Linked DNA regions of Homo sapiens: region 2 is linked to region 1. Evidence: promoter capture Hi-C in 16 types of primary human blood cells and fetal thymus (Javierre and others, 2016). All regions are on one chromosome and are shown on one strand. Each heading gives the region's core, a stretch centred on a gene start or on the middle of the fragment in contact. The rest is flanking DNA. Distances are from core to core; before and after follow the strand shown. Region 1 holds the start of AKAP12 (A-kinase anchoring protein 12). Region 2 overlaps AKAP12 (A-kinase anchoring protein 12).

The links. Contacts are between HindIII fragments. The CHiCAGO score rates a contact against its expected background, and 5 or more counts as called.
Region 2: a contact is called between a fragment that was not itself captured here and the fragment with the promoter of AKAP12 in region 1, in 1 of 17 cell types (endothelial precursors). The highest score is 7.4, in endothelial precursors.

The regions. Positions count from the first base shown.
Region 1 is chr6:151,234,978-151,242,046 of GRCh38, reverse strand. AKAP12 (A-kinase anchoring protein 12) reads right to left here and starts at 2,080. Exons shown (of 5, transcript NM_005100.4): 1 at 1,988-2,080; 2 at 1,323-1,663. The coding sequence starts at 1,484. RefSeq lists enhancers at 1,113-1,690, 1,768-2,277. The HindIII fragment of the contact is 4,204 bases long and covers 10-4,213 here.
Region 2 is chr6:151,323,900-151,330,839 of GRCh38, reverse strand. All of the region lies in intron 3 of AKAP12 (A-kinase anchoring protein 12), which reads right to left. Among named protein-coding and RNA genes, the nearest start is that of ZBTB2, 64 kb to the left of the region's middle. RefSeq lists a silencer at 6,321-6,521. The HindIII fragment of the contact is 1,433 bases long and covers 4,572-6,004 here.

The sequences.
Region 1 (7,069 bases), core at 831-3,330:
CCAGAAGCTTAAGCATCTCTTAGAAAAACCTACATAGCACAGAGACACAGTTAGTACTTAATATCTAGGGACCATGGATTTTACAAGTAGTTATGAATCAAAGACTGGCGGTAAAAACTATATTATTAACAGCAGTCTCTCAGCCCAAAAGAGACTAGGGCAGCTAAGGAGGTCAAGGCAATTAGGTCATGGTTGTAGGTTCCTTTTTTTTTTTTTTTTTGCATATTGTAAACATCTACACCTCCTGCGATAACTCACGTACTCTATCCTCAAATTTGACATACCGCAAATTTAACTATTAAACATGGTTATCCACATCTTTCTACAAGGTATCACAAGGGTACCTTTGTGATACAAGGGTATCACAAAATCAGTAGAGTGAAGCCTTGCTAATGAACACATGCGCTGGAAAATAGATCTAAAATACCACGACCAGAACAAGCCACAGTCTTGGCGGCTGTCCTGGCCCACAAGAAATATTCCAGCCTTGAAGACTGAAGCCGATAAAATGCAGTCGTTTCAGCACTGCGTCCAGGGAAGAGTACCCGGAATGCTCGTTACACTGACCCCATCCTTTGAGAACTTCTAGCCACTCTAGCGTGTGTTTGGCCAACTGAGTCTGCAGGCAAAGCGCTGAGCGAACGCGAGGGCGCTGGCTGGTTTGCGAAACCTGTCATTCCTTCTGGAAACGCAGCGCCTGCCCAGGTTTTTCCTGGCTCTGAGCGAGCTACACCCCAGGCTTTCTCTGCCTCGGGAAGGCGGTGCCTGCTCGGGCCGCTGCCGCAGGAGGACTGGGTACCAAACCCGCTCGCTCCAGGCACCGCTGGCATCCAGGGCGGTACGCGACGGGGAACCCGAGGGTGGCTGGGCTCCCCGGCGGGCTCCACCACGAGTCCTGGCCTCACAGCTGACTTTCCGCATCTCGGAGCTCCGGAGGCCCGGCCCGGGGTCCATTCTCCACGGATCCCCCTCCGCGCAGCTCCTCCGCCTCGGGCTGCATGGCTCCCACCGGAAGAGTGCGCAGAAAGGCTCAGCCGCCGTGGGCAGGGCGCGGGTTTTATTATTGCGCATGGCGCAGTCGCCTCCCCTGGAGACCCGCGACAAAGATGCAAGCCCCCCGCCGCGCTCGCCGCTGCTCTGGCCCCGCCCCGGCGCGAAAGACCCTGAAAAGCCTCCAAAGAGGGGTTCGCACTCCTGAGTTTGCAGATGCGGCTGGATGGGCTGGGAAGTTCTCTCGGCGGAAATCGGAGGGACCCCCCCACCCCCACCCCCACCCCCAAAGACCCGCGCCTCCCGGCGCAGGTGGCCCGGCACGCCCGTACCTTGGTGGCGGGGTCCGAGGCAGCGATGGCGGGGTCCGCGGTGGTGTCTGGCGCCGCCTCGGCCGAGGGGCCGCCGCCGCTGGGCTCGGGCTCAGCCGGCGTGGAGCTCCCCTCGGGCGGCTGCTCCGGGCTGCGCTGCTCGGTGGAGCTCCCGGCGCCCATGGCTCCTCCGCACTTCTCCCGCGCCTAGCCGCCGGGTTACGCCTTCCCCAAGCCGCAGGGACAGGGGCAAGAGCCAAAAGACGCGCGCCCGCGAGGTCCCGAGAGCGCCTTCCTTCGCCGCCAGCCGACTGCGAACGCGCCCAGCCTGCGAATGAAGGAGACGCGCTCGCGGCAAACTCCTTAAAAGAAAAGGAAAAAAAAAAAAAGGCCACCTCTTAGCCTCCGCCCCCCTCCCCCCGGTTTTTCCCTCGCTTCATCACATGAGCACAGCCCCAGACACGCCCTGCAGCAGCATCTGCCCCCAGGCTGCCGGGACCAGAGGCGCTGCGACGCGCCAGCCCAGGTCCAGGCAGCCGCCCACCCGGCCCTCGGGCGCCTCCCGTTTCTAACAGGGCGACTAGAGCTGCGGGGACGACCCAGGGCCTCAGAAGGCAAGAGAGCAGGGGAGCAAAAAGCCTGCCGGGGACACTGGATTCTCTGGGGTTTATTAAATGATGGATCACCCAAGGCAGGAGCTTCTGCTGCAGCCGACTTTCAGCTCGCCCAGGAGCGAGTCCGAGTCCCCATTTGCTTTCCTGCAGATTGTGTTTAACTCCAAACATTTGTTCCAGCCTCCTCCCCATTAGCAGGAGAAAGGCAAGCGCTCCCTGGCTCCTCCTGAGTCCGACCATATTTGGGCACCTCACGTGGCAAGAGCAGGGAACCGAGAGGTTAACGCAGTCAGGCCACGGATGAGGTGGGCCACGCAGGCCCACGCTCTCCTATCCTCCGGAACAAGTGATGTCAGGCGATGCCATCAGCAGTGCTAGCCGCCCCCCTTCCCCCGGGGAACGGGGGGAAATGAGGCTGTTACCGGAAATGTGCCCGTCCTTCTTTGAGGGCCTGTGCTGGAAGTTACCCATCCAGGCCACCTCTGCTCCGCGCGATGCCGACACATGACAGCATAGATCTGTTCCTTTGCCGTCAGCCTTTCTCAAAAGATGAAGACTTTAAATAATACCAGCACAAGTGGCTTGCATCCTTTCATTTCCGACCCTTGAATATAATATGTATTACATGAGCATGGCAGCCAATCAATAAGTATTTGAACTAAATTAAATTTGTAGCTGGATTGCTTGGCGCAAAGCATTAAGGCTTTGGGGCTGAAAGACAAAATTTATTCCAGTTGTAACTAGCAACCGAGTGCCCCAGTTTTCACAAATACTTTGAATCTCCATTAAGAATGAAGAAACCAGCCTGGTTAACATAGCGAGACCTTGTCTCTACAAAAAATAAAAAAATTAGCCAGGCGCAGTGGTGCACCTGTAGTCCTAGCTACTCAGGAGGCTGGGGACGCTGGGGTAGAAGGATGACTTCAGCCCAGGAATTCGAGGCTGCAGTGAGCTATGACTGTGCCTCTGCACTCCATCCTAGTCGACAGAGCAAGATTCTGTCAAAAAAAAAAAAGAAAGAAAGAAGGAAGAAACTTTCGGAATATTCACACCAAATTCCAGATAAATATCTCATACTCAGATTTAGTACAATTTTGTAGAAAGGGTGTAAGCAGTAGTTCAGCACTAGGATGTTTCATGCCTAATGAATTGCATGAATCGAATGGTACCCTGGGAACCATAGGTTAGTTACTCACCATCAAATTTGTTTTCTGAATTAATTTTTTTTCTTTTTCTTTTTTTGAGACAAGGTCTCGCTGTGTTGCCCAGGCTAGTGTTGAACTCCTGAGCTCAAGCGATCCTCCTGCCTTGGCCTCTCAAAGTGCTGGGATTATAGGTGTGAACCACCACACTGGGCCTGTTTTCTGAATTAATTATTTTTATTTAAAGGACTACACGAAGGCCAATTTCTCTGGAGTTTATCTCTTAAGAAACAGTATATTTGCAAAATGCTTAGTTTTAGGAATTTATACACATTTCCCCCATTTTGACTTAAATTTTGACTATTTAGGAAACATTAGAATTCTTACTCTGTACCAGGCACTGTTCAATGCACTTTACATAATAATCTTTACAATAACCCCATGGGATAGATAGTATTATTCTCATTTTACCATTGGCAGGAGGGGGAGGAGTAGGCCCGGAGAAATTAAATTGTGTGCTTCAGGTTTCACAGCCAGGAGTTGGAAGAGCAGGAAGTCCAACTGGCATCTGCTTTCAGGGTCCACGCTTCACCACCGCATGGCACTCCCCTTCCCTTTCAATCAACTGTGTTCTCTCCTCTCAGAGGTGTTACTGAAACGTGGCATTTGGACCTCACTTAGGATTTTAAGAGCAAAAAGCACTGTTAAAACCTACTTGAGGCCAGGTGTGGTGGCTTACACCTGTAATCCCAGCACTTTGGGAGGCCGAGGTGGGTGGATCACCTGAGGACAGTAGTTCAAGACCAGCCTGGGCAACATGGTGAAACCCCGTCTCTACTAAAAGTACAAAAATTAGCCAGGCATGGTGGCGCGTGTCTGTAATCCCAGCTACTCAGGAGGCCAAGACACGAGAACTGCTTGAACCTGGGAGGTGGAGGTTGCAGTGAGCTGAGATCATGCCATTGCACGCCAGCCTGGATGACAGATTAAGACTCCGTCCCAAAAAAAAAAAAAGAAGAAGAAAAAAAAAACTATTTGAGAATGATTAACGTCAGCACATTTGAAAATGTATCAGTAAGTAGCACAAATACTATCAACATTTTCACATTCTGTGAGATTATATTTACTTTGTTCCTGGGAAATTCTTAGCAAAGCTTTTCACATCTACTACCCTTTAAATTTTCAGAAAGGATTGCAGGGTCAAGCCAACAGTGTACAACCTACGTGCTGAGGAAGATATCAGCATCTGCTTAGATTAGCAGTTACTTGCTTTTTGTTTATTTTCCAGGCCATGTAAATGTTCATACTCTTATTTGTAAAAAGTAAAATCATTGCGCTGGGCGCGGTGGCTCACGCCTGTAATCCCAGCACTTTGGGAGGTTGAAGTGGAAGGATTGCTTGACACCAGGGGTTCAAGACCAGCCTGGGCAACACAGTGAAACTCCCATCTCTACAAAAAATAAAAAAAAATTTAGCCAGGAGTGGTGGTGCATGCCTGTAGTCCTAGCTACTTGGGAGGCTGAGGCGGGAGGATCACTTGAGCCCAGGAGTTCCAGACTGCAGCCTGGATGACATAGTGAGACCCTGTCTCAAAAAAAAAAAAGAGAAGAAAAGAAAAGTGGTTGTGTTATTAATGACCTCTAGCGATGAAATAGCCCAACCTTTTGGGTATGCCACTTAGTGCTTCAGAATGCTACAAAGTTTGTTACTTTTTTTACTTTTCTTTCTTTCTTTCTTTTTCTTTCTTTCCTTCTTCTCTGTTCTTTCTTTCTTTTTCTTTCTTTCCTTCTTCTCTTTCTTTCTTTCAATAAATTTCTATCAAGTACCTATTATGTGCCAAGCACAAAGTTACCACTCTAGTTTCCAAGGTTCTAAATCGAGTCACTGAGGTTTTCTTTTCTAGGGCTTCCAAGATGCCTTCGGAATTGCTTGGATTGGCATCAGAGTAGAGGGGAGGCAGGTGTTCTCTATTTTTCACTTCTCAGTCCAAGGCTGTTGGTTCAATGTCTCACCAGCAGCTCAATTTTTCTCCAAATAGCAGGATGCAGGTGTCCCCACACATCCTCTCCCATGGGGCAGTCGTTGGTAGAGCTGTTTCCCTGAGAGGGTTAATTCTCTCATAAACACAGTTTGAGATTTCTCAAAAACAAATACATGTTGCCTGTGTAGCAGGCTGAACCTGTACTTCGCACACATACTTCTCCAGAAAGACGGGTCACATGAGGTTTAACAATAAAATGTAGAGTCATAGTTGGGCACCTTGTGCATGCACCAAAACAGTTTCAAATATAACATTAAAGGAATTCACAAATGTCAAACATTTTACAACTGAGTTCAGACACCCCCTTCAAAGTGCAATAATAATTTTAATTATTAAAACAGTTTAAAATCTACCGTTAACTCTACCCTAAAGATTCATTCTCTAGTTACAAAGCCTTCGCTGAGACTGGCAACTCTTCACCTTCACCTTTGAAACTGCTTCTCTCTTGATTATAACTTCTTTGTTTTCCCTGGATAAAACACCTACTTCTTTCTAAACCAGTTGTTCCCACAGAGATATCCAGTCATCTAAGAACCTAATTCCCACTCTATCTTGTGCTCGTGTGAATTTGTTATTCTTAATACTCCCTTATCACAGAGCTGTTTCAGGCAGAATAGAGAGTACTAGAATGTGCGCATGCATCTCTTAAGATATGATTTTACTTTTTACAAATAAGAATATTAACATTTACATGGCCTGGAAAATAAATAACCAAGAATAATGTTATTACCCTGTTGAGAAGTCTATGGAAGAAACTGTGAGTAAATTATTTGAATTTTACTTTCTATGTGAGGATTTGAGACGGATTATTTTAGAGCATTAATTATAATTTGCTAATTATAAACTAGAAGAATTAACAGTTGTATTCAATTCATGAGTACTTAATAATCTAAAATTCATATGGAAGCTACAGAAAATGTTCAATTTACAGATGAAGTTTAAAGCTCAGCCGCTTGTAGACATACATCACGTATATATATATAGGCAAATGCTATCCTTGTAACTCTTAAGGAATTTATTGCTTTGGAGTTAAGTATAAAGCCAGCTATTTGGATCTCAGTTTCATTTACCAAGGTTTAAGATTGGTGCCTGACTCAAATTCAGGATTACTCTCAAGTAACAAAGGAGGGACTGGAACCAAGATAGAGTAAATGATGTGTCCAATATGGAGAAAGAATTTCTCAGGATGCACTGTTAGAAGATACCAGAAGGTATGTGGAAGGTGTCTACATTCCAGGGTAGATCAAGTGGCTGTAATCCTCACAATTTCAAATCCCTTCTACAAAGGACCCTATAAGTATCCAACATTAAAATATATATTTTTCACATATTAATTAAATAAACTTTCACTGAGTTGAGTGCCAGGCAAAATGCAGAGGACTTTTCAAAGTTGGAAACTTTGCTTCAATAAGTCAACATTGCGCACTCAAAACAAAGCTATTATACAATATATTATACGATGTGAACTGTAGATTTTATGTTCCTCTACCAACTTAAATCCCTTTGTGGCCTGGTGCGGTGGCTCACATCTATAATCCCAGCACTTTGGGAGGCGGAGGCGGGTGGATCACCTGAGGTCAGGAGTTTGAGACCAGCCTGGCCAACATGGTGAAACCCCGTCTCTACTTTAAAAAGATACAAAAATTAGCCAAGCGTGGTGGTGTGCGCCTGTAATCCCAGCTACTTGGGAGGCTGAGGCAGGAGAATTGCTTGAACCTGGGAGATGGAGGTTGCAGTGAGCCAAGATCGCGCCACTGCACTCCAGCCTGGGCGAAAGAGTAAGACTCTGTCTCAAAAAAAATAAAAAAGAAAAAAAGATTAGGTTGTGAATTGATAAACATCTCAACTAGCAATACACAAAGGAAAGGTGGATAACCTGATCTAATGTTTATTTTGTATTCCTTTAAGTTAGCTTGCTAAATGCTTTTAAAATCATAACAATAGCAATAAACCTATATAAACATGCCCAAA
Region 2 (6,940 bases), core at 4,039-6,538, 86 kb before region 1:
GTTCAAAACCTGGAGCATCATCTTTTTTTTCTCACTTTTCCAAATACTTAGCGATTAAGAGATAAATTATAAATTGTTTTCTTTTAGAGGCTTAAAAGAAAAAAAAACTTTAAAGGAATATGTTGATTATATACTACAAAATATTAATGTTTTTATCCAAAACTTAGCTATCAGGTTTCAGTGACACCAGCACCATCATTTTTGGTTGAGAAAAAGAAGTACGATACTGCAGAAACGACATGTTCATTTTTCAGGCTGAGAATCACCAGTGCTCCCCATCCCCAGGCACATCAGGACGGCTTACAGTAACATCTGGAACTAGTTATCTTTCCCCCAAGATTCGTAGCATTGTCCTGGAATTTTTCCAGGAATTCTCTGCATTCTAAGTCCATCCCTTATAGGCTACACACCCAATCTCCCTTGTTCTAAAGCTCATTAACCAGAAAACCTCCAAGCGGAGATATATGCAAATTCATAAAAGCAAGGATCCCATACTGGAGCATATAGGTGACATCATCATTGGACCTGGTGTGTTTTTTGGGGGGTGGGGTAGGGACAGGGTCTTGCTCTGTTGCTCAGGCTGGAATTCAGTGGTGCAAGTGATTCTCCTACCTCAGCTTCCCAAGTGACTGGGACTACAGGCATGTGCCACCATGCACAGCTAAATCTTTAATTTGTTGTAGAGAGGAGGTCTCCCCTACGTTGACCATGCTGGTCTCAAACTCCTGGACTCAAGCGATCCACCTGCCTTGGCCTCCCAAAGTGCTGGGATTACAGGCATAAGCCACCGTGCCCAGTCCCAATCCCTGGTCTTGATATTGATGTTTCACGATCCCTTAAACATCTGGGCAGGCATGTAAGAATGTGGGTCACTAAACAAGTATTAGCATCTTCACAACGAGAAAGAGGTCTTTTGCAAGGTACTCTACAGTTATGCTCTTTCTAGCTGTGAAACCTTGGGTAATTATCAAATCATGAGAAACTTACTTTTATGATAGAAATGGGGTTACAGAACCACTTTTTGCAGGATTATTGTGAGGAATACATGATAATGTCCACAAAGTGCTGAACAACACCTGCCAGACTAGGCACTCAGGAAGTGGTAGTTATTAATCCAGCAGTTGTGAAAGTATCAATTTCGTGTCTCCAAAGTCTCTTGACAAGGAATCTGTCTCCATAGCAGATGTGAAACACCCATGTGCAAGGTATTTTTTTCTCTTGTAAAAATTATTTGCATCGGAAAGTGCATTATAAATAATCTAGAACTAACATGAACGTTGGAGGATTGATTCTTCCCCAGTTTCTACTTTAAAGAATAATGTCCCTGTTTCTCATGATACTTCACAGTTTGCAATGTATCAATATTATCAGTTTCAGTAATGTGGGTGTTAGAGAAAAGCGAAAAGATACTTGCTTAATTCAAAAAGCATTTTTTTGGCCGGGCGTGGTGGCTCACACCACTTTGGGAGGCTGAGGCGGGTGGATCACCTGAGGTCAGGAGTTCAAGACCAGCCTGGCCAACATGGCGAAACCTCGTCTCTACTAAAAATACAAACATTAGCGGGGCGTGGTGGCAGGTGCCTGTAATCCCAGCTGCTTGGGAGGCTGAGGCAGGGAGAACTGCTTGAACCCGGGAGGTGGAGGTTGCAGTGAGCTGAGATCGCGCCACTGCACTCCAGCCTGGGTGACAGAGTGAGACTTCATCTCAAAAAAAAAGGCATTTTTATGCTGGCACGCCATTTACAGTTGAGTGGGGAAGGGGATGATCATCGTGTCACATCACTTATTTCTTGTCTCAAAGCTAACTTATTGCAAATGAGATGTGAGAGAAAGAGACCCCAAGAATGGCAACAGTATGTAATGTGAATAAGCAATCATTTCATAATTCAATTTCCACTGCATTCATTTTAGTGGTTTGTGTAAACTGGGTTGTGTGTGTGGCAGGGGGGAGGGGGATAATAGTATTAAGTGACAGCTTTTCCTTACTTTCAGAAATGCAAACTTGTTCCTAAGTAGTTCCTACAAAATGCCATCAGTCCTGTTAATGAATTGTAAAATTTAAACACAGGCCTCCTAAAATAACATAGTACTAAAGATAACTACAATAACCTTCTATAGTATTTAAGTGAATAATCCCAAAGATGCAAAGACCTTTAAGATTTCATTAAACCTTACTGTCAATTTAATTTTTTTTTTTTTTTTTGAGACGGAGTCTTGCTCTGTCACCCAGGCTGGAGTGCAGTGGCACAATCTTGACTCACTGCAACCTCTGCCTCCCAGGTTCAAGCAATTCTCCTGCCTCAGCCTCCCGAGTAGCTGGGATCACAGGTGCACACTACCACGTCCAGCTAATTTTTGTATTTTTAGTAGAGACGGGGTTTCACCATGTTGGTCAGGCTAGTCTTGTACTCCTGACCTCGTGATCCGCCCGCCTCCGCCTCCCAAAGTGCTGGAATCACAGGCGTGAGCCGCCGCGCCCGGCCACCTTACTGTCAATTTTTTTTTTTTTTTTGAGATGGAGTCTCGCTCTGTCGCCCAGGCTGGAGTGCAGAGGCGCGATCTCGGCTCACTGCAAGCTCTGCCTCCCGAGTTCACGCCATTCTCCTGCCTCAGCCTCCCAAGTAGCTGGGACTACAGGCACCCGCCACCACACCCGGCTAATTTTTTTGTATTTTTACTAGAGACGGGGTTTCACCGTGTTAGCCAGGATGGTCTCGATCTCCTGACCTCGTGATCCGCCCACCTCGGCCTCCCAAAGTCCTGGGATTACAGGCGTGAGCCACCGCGCCCGGTTGTTACTGTCAATTTTTAAAGCTCTCATGGCTTTTCAAGATTCTGAGCAACTATTTAAAGATGATGATTATGAATCTTCCCCATCAGAATAACTTGCGGAGCAAAAACCAAATGACAGCTGAAACTCCCTTTCATTTTTACTTTTTCCACTACGTAAGATTTCTTGCTGGTAAATTTTTGGAGTTAAGATTTTCTGTGCACTTTCTTCTTACCAGGAAAAAGTGCAAAATTTTGCCATATCCTCCACACCCACATTGTAAGAAAAGTAAATTTAGAAAGCAATAGAGCCAATTACCTGATTTTGCCTTAAAAGTTAGTCCTTCCCACTATTTCCATTCATTTATCACTCCATTGGGATTATCTGAGCCAACTATTACAAGCCCCCTCAAGTGCTCCCAGTTTATTAACCTTTAATTACTGCTAAAACTTTAGACCACCTCCTTTTACCATAGGAATCTCAGTATGCGACTAATTGAATAGTGAATATAATAAAAATCATATTGTACCCAAAAAGTACTCAGAAAAAAGTCATGATCTCAGAAGCACCACCCCAGCTGTGACTCCCTACAATACACATTTGCATATTTCATTCATAGAAAAGTTAATGATCTGGGGGAAAAAATGGAGATTTTTGTGTTTTAAATTTTTTTCATTTTGTACAGTCTATTTATTAATAGTTTCGAGATATGGCATAAACTTTCAAGCTGAGTAAATGGTAGAAAGGTTAGCCAAGTCAACTTGGGGGTCGAATTTTAAGGAAATCTCAAAGTAAACAAGCTAATCTATAGGAAGTGAGAGATAATTTTAGTATTGCTGAACTTTCACATTCTTGTAAATTCCACTGGAGCGCATGGCTTTGCAGGAGCAGTTGCATTGAGAAAATTTTAAGTCCTAGAAATTCTACAGTTGATTAAAAAAAAAAAAAAAATGTAGGCCAGGTGCGGTGGCTCACGTCTATAATCCTAGCACTTTGGGAGACCAAGGCGGGCAGATCACAAGGTCAAGAGATCGAGACCATCCTGGCCAACTTGGTGAAACCCCGGCTCTACTAAAAATACAAAAATTATCTGGGCGTGGTGGCACGTGCCTGTAACCCCAGCTACTCGGGAGGCTGAGGCAGGAGAATCGCTTGAACCCAGGAGGTGGAGGTTGCAGTAAGCCAAGATCACACCATTGCACTTCAGTCTGGCGAAAGAGCAAGACTCCATCTCAAAAAACAAACAAAAAACAAACAAACAAAAAAAAAGATTTGGCAGCAATGATCTCAAATATTTAAAGAATAAAGAAGTCCTGTTCCTATAAAGTTAAATTCACAAACGGAATTTAATTTTCTTGATGACAGGAAGAGAAAATACGCAGGTTAGGCCACAGTACAATGGCATAAGACTATCAAATGTCAAGTTAGAGGAGCTGTAAGAGCATTCTAAAAGTTTGATGCGTGTAAGTTATTTGCTAGAAGTAGGCAGTAAATATTATAATTCATACTCACGGCCAGATTCCTAGAAAGTAAGCTAAAGAAACATACTTTTTTCTTTTTTTCTTTTTTTTTTTTTTTTTACTATTTGTTGCCTAAATAGTGTTGCTTCCTAGCCACCGATTTTATAATAACTATGGCTTTATTAAAACCACCACTTAAAGCAGAGCTTAAATGTTAGTCCCCTAAACCACCAAGTGTACCTTTATTCAAAGTTCCTAGTAAACAAGTCAAAATGCAAACACTTGTAATTTGCCCAGAAGAGGAATGTATTCTGTCTATGACTACGGCAAGAGATTAAGCTTTCACAGCTTATTTTCAAATTCACACAAATCTGACATATTTCTATTCAGTCGGCTGCTGTTGTTCCTCTCCACATCCCTCTCTCCCTAAGGGGAAGGGTACAACCCCGAACAAAATATACTAAAGGTCTCCCATAGGCACAGTCAAGAAGATTCCAGCTCAGCCAAAAATGAAACACTGAGGTTGTCTGATTCTTGCTGAGCCCAAGGGAGAATGTTCTTCTGAAGAAAAACTCAGTACACGGAGAGAAATAAATGCCAATAACGGTCCCGCCACTGACCTCCCGGGCTCCCCACCAAACGCTCATTCAACGGAAGAAAGCCCCTTTTCGTGCCCCGTGCCTGCCGTCCAGGGAGGACAAAAGCGACCTGGCTTGTGCCTTACCTGTGATGGTGATGGTCCCCAGCATATTTTAAGTAGCACTACTGTACAGGAGATCAGCTTAGCGGGTCCCTGCCCTCCCCGGCAGACGCCTAGTCTCCTGCCTGCCAACCGCAGGTGGTTTCGGCGGGATCAGAGCGGACTGAGCGCCCAGACACTCCCGGAGGATGGGGGAGAACCGGAGGTGCCCTCGGAGCTGCCGCAGCGAAAAGCAGAGCGCGGATGCATTTCCCCAGATAATTATAGGCGGACCCCCACCCACGCCCCCACCCAGCCACCCACACGCGGGCTGGCGCTGGCCCCTCCCTTGCTGAGCTCCAGGACTTCGGGAGCGCAAACTTCCCCGCCCGGGCCGCACAAGCAGGGGGTCACGTGCTTCACCTTAAAGCCCTCCCCCGAGCTGGGCTCTGTGAGTGGTCAGCGGGTTCTGCAGAGTCCCGGGAGGGTTTAAAGGGTGCTGGGCATGAGTTCGATGCTGGAGCCGGCGCATTGGATCTAAACGGTTACTTCATTCCTGGCACCGATTTACTAATACTTCTGTATCTCAGCTTTTTAAGTCATTTCAAGGAAATAGCCACACAGACAGTAAATTCTCCCTCCATTTTAAAGACTGCATTCTGCATCCTTATGTTTGTTTAAAGGTTGGTGTGGTGCCAACACCTCCCTTCTTGGCATCTGTAGCATTTGATATTTTCACCATCTGTGTCTTACGCATACACACACGTTGCACTGCTCTGAAGACTGGCAACTCTCAGTAGTGCTGTTTCCTAAACTCTTTGAGAAGGGCTCTCAGAAGTGAACTTGTTCCTTCTAACAAGTGCTGTCTTCAACACTTGACCAAGGCAACTTTTCAAAAGCAGACTTGAGCATGGGGTCTTTTTCTAAATGGCAGAAGTTAGCTAACTTTTTAGATCAAACTATGCCATGTTCCAATTTTTAGACACTATCATATCTCTAACATGCAAGCACACAACTCGGAAATCAAAGCCTATGTTAAAAGTTCAGAAGATTTCAGGCAGCCCTAGAATACTTCAATTCTTTCTCATTGAAGCTTCAGGTTTGTTCTTTGTAAAGACACGAGTGACGAATGAGTTGGTGTGGTCTCACAATTTTAATACACTTTTTTTGTACTCCAATTTTTTGTTAGGGTGGGTCCGTTAGGTCCCCTGGGTTTGTTCCCTTCTTTCATCCTTTCCCTATTTATCACTTCATGCCTTGCCTGCCTGACCCATTAACACCAGCTCTTCCCCTACACAAACAAAAAGGAAAGTTTTACTATTGCACTTCTCTTCAGAGAATGAAGATCTTGTTCATTATTGCTTGGGGCAGGGAGGAGGGAGGGGAGCCTCGGCGTAGACCACAGTGGGCACAGCAAAGAGAAGGGTGGGCGAGGAACAGGAGAATCAGGGAAAAATGGAAGTCCAGGAGAGCTGGCTGGCATGGCACGTAGTTGCACTTTTTGGGCACCAGGGGGCGCGATGCACCACACTCGGGCCCAGAGTGAGCAACGTGAAAACCGCTTCCTTGCTGGTAACCAGACCTTGTTACAAAAATCAGCTTCAGCCTCTCCAAAAGCCTGGCTTCCGTTTCACATCCTGGCAAATACCCGGCCTGGCGGGAACAGGGAATGATGGGCCTTGTCCTGACTCAGTGAGATATTGCCTGGAAGCTGACTCCCAGACCCAGCCACTGAGCTGCTTCCCAACCTTTTTTCTCTAGAGAAGTCTCAACTCTATTTCACAAATTGCTCCAATTTTAATAATGAGGCTGGTGTGTGTGAAATGCTGCTGGTACTGACCATCCTTCTGGAGTCCACAGAGCCAAGGGGGCAGGGCAACTTGGCCATTCCTCTCCTCCCAATCCCAGCCCCAGAGTGTCCTGGCTGTGCAAATCATGGATAAAGACGACTTGGGATGTTGCATCAGGGTCTACATTAATAAGTCCCTTCCCCAGAGATGTCCCAGGAGCCGTGGGTGATCTGGGATCTGA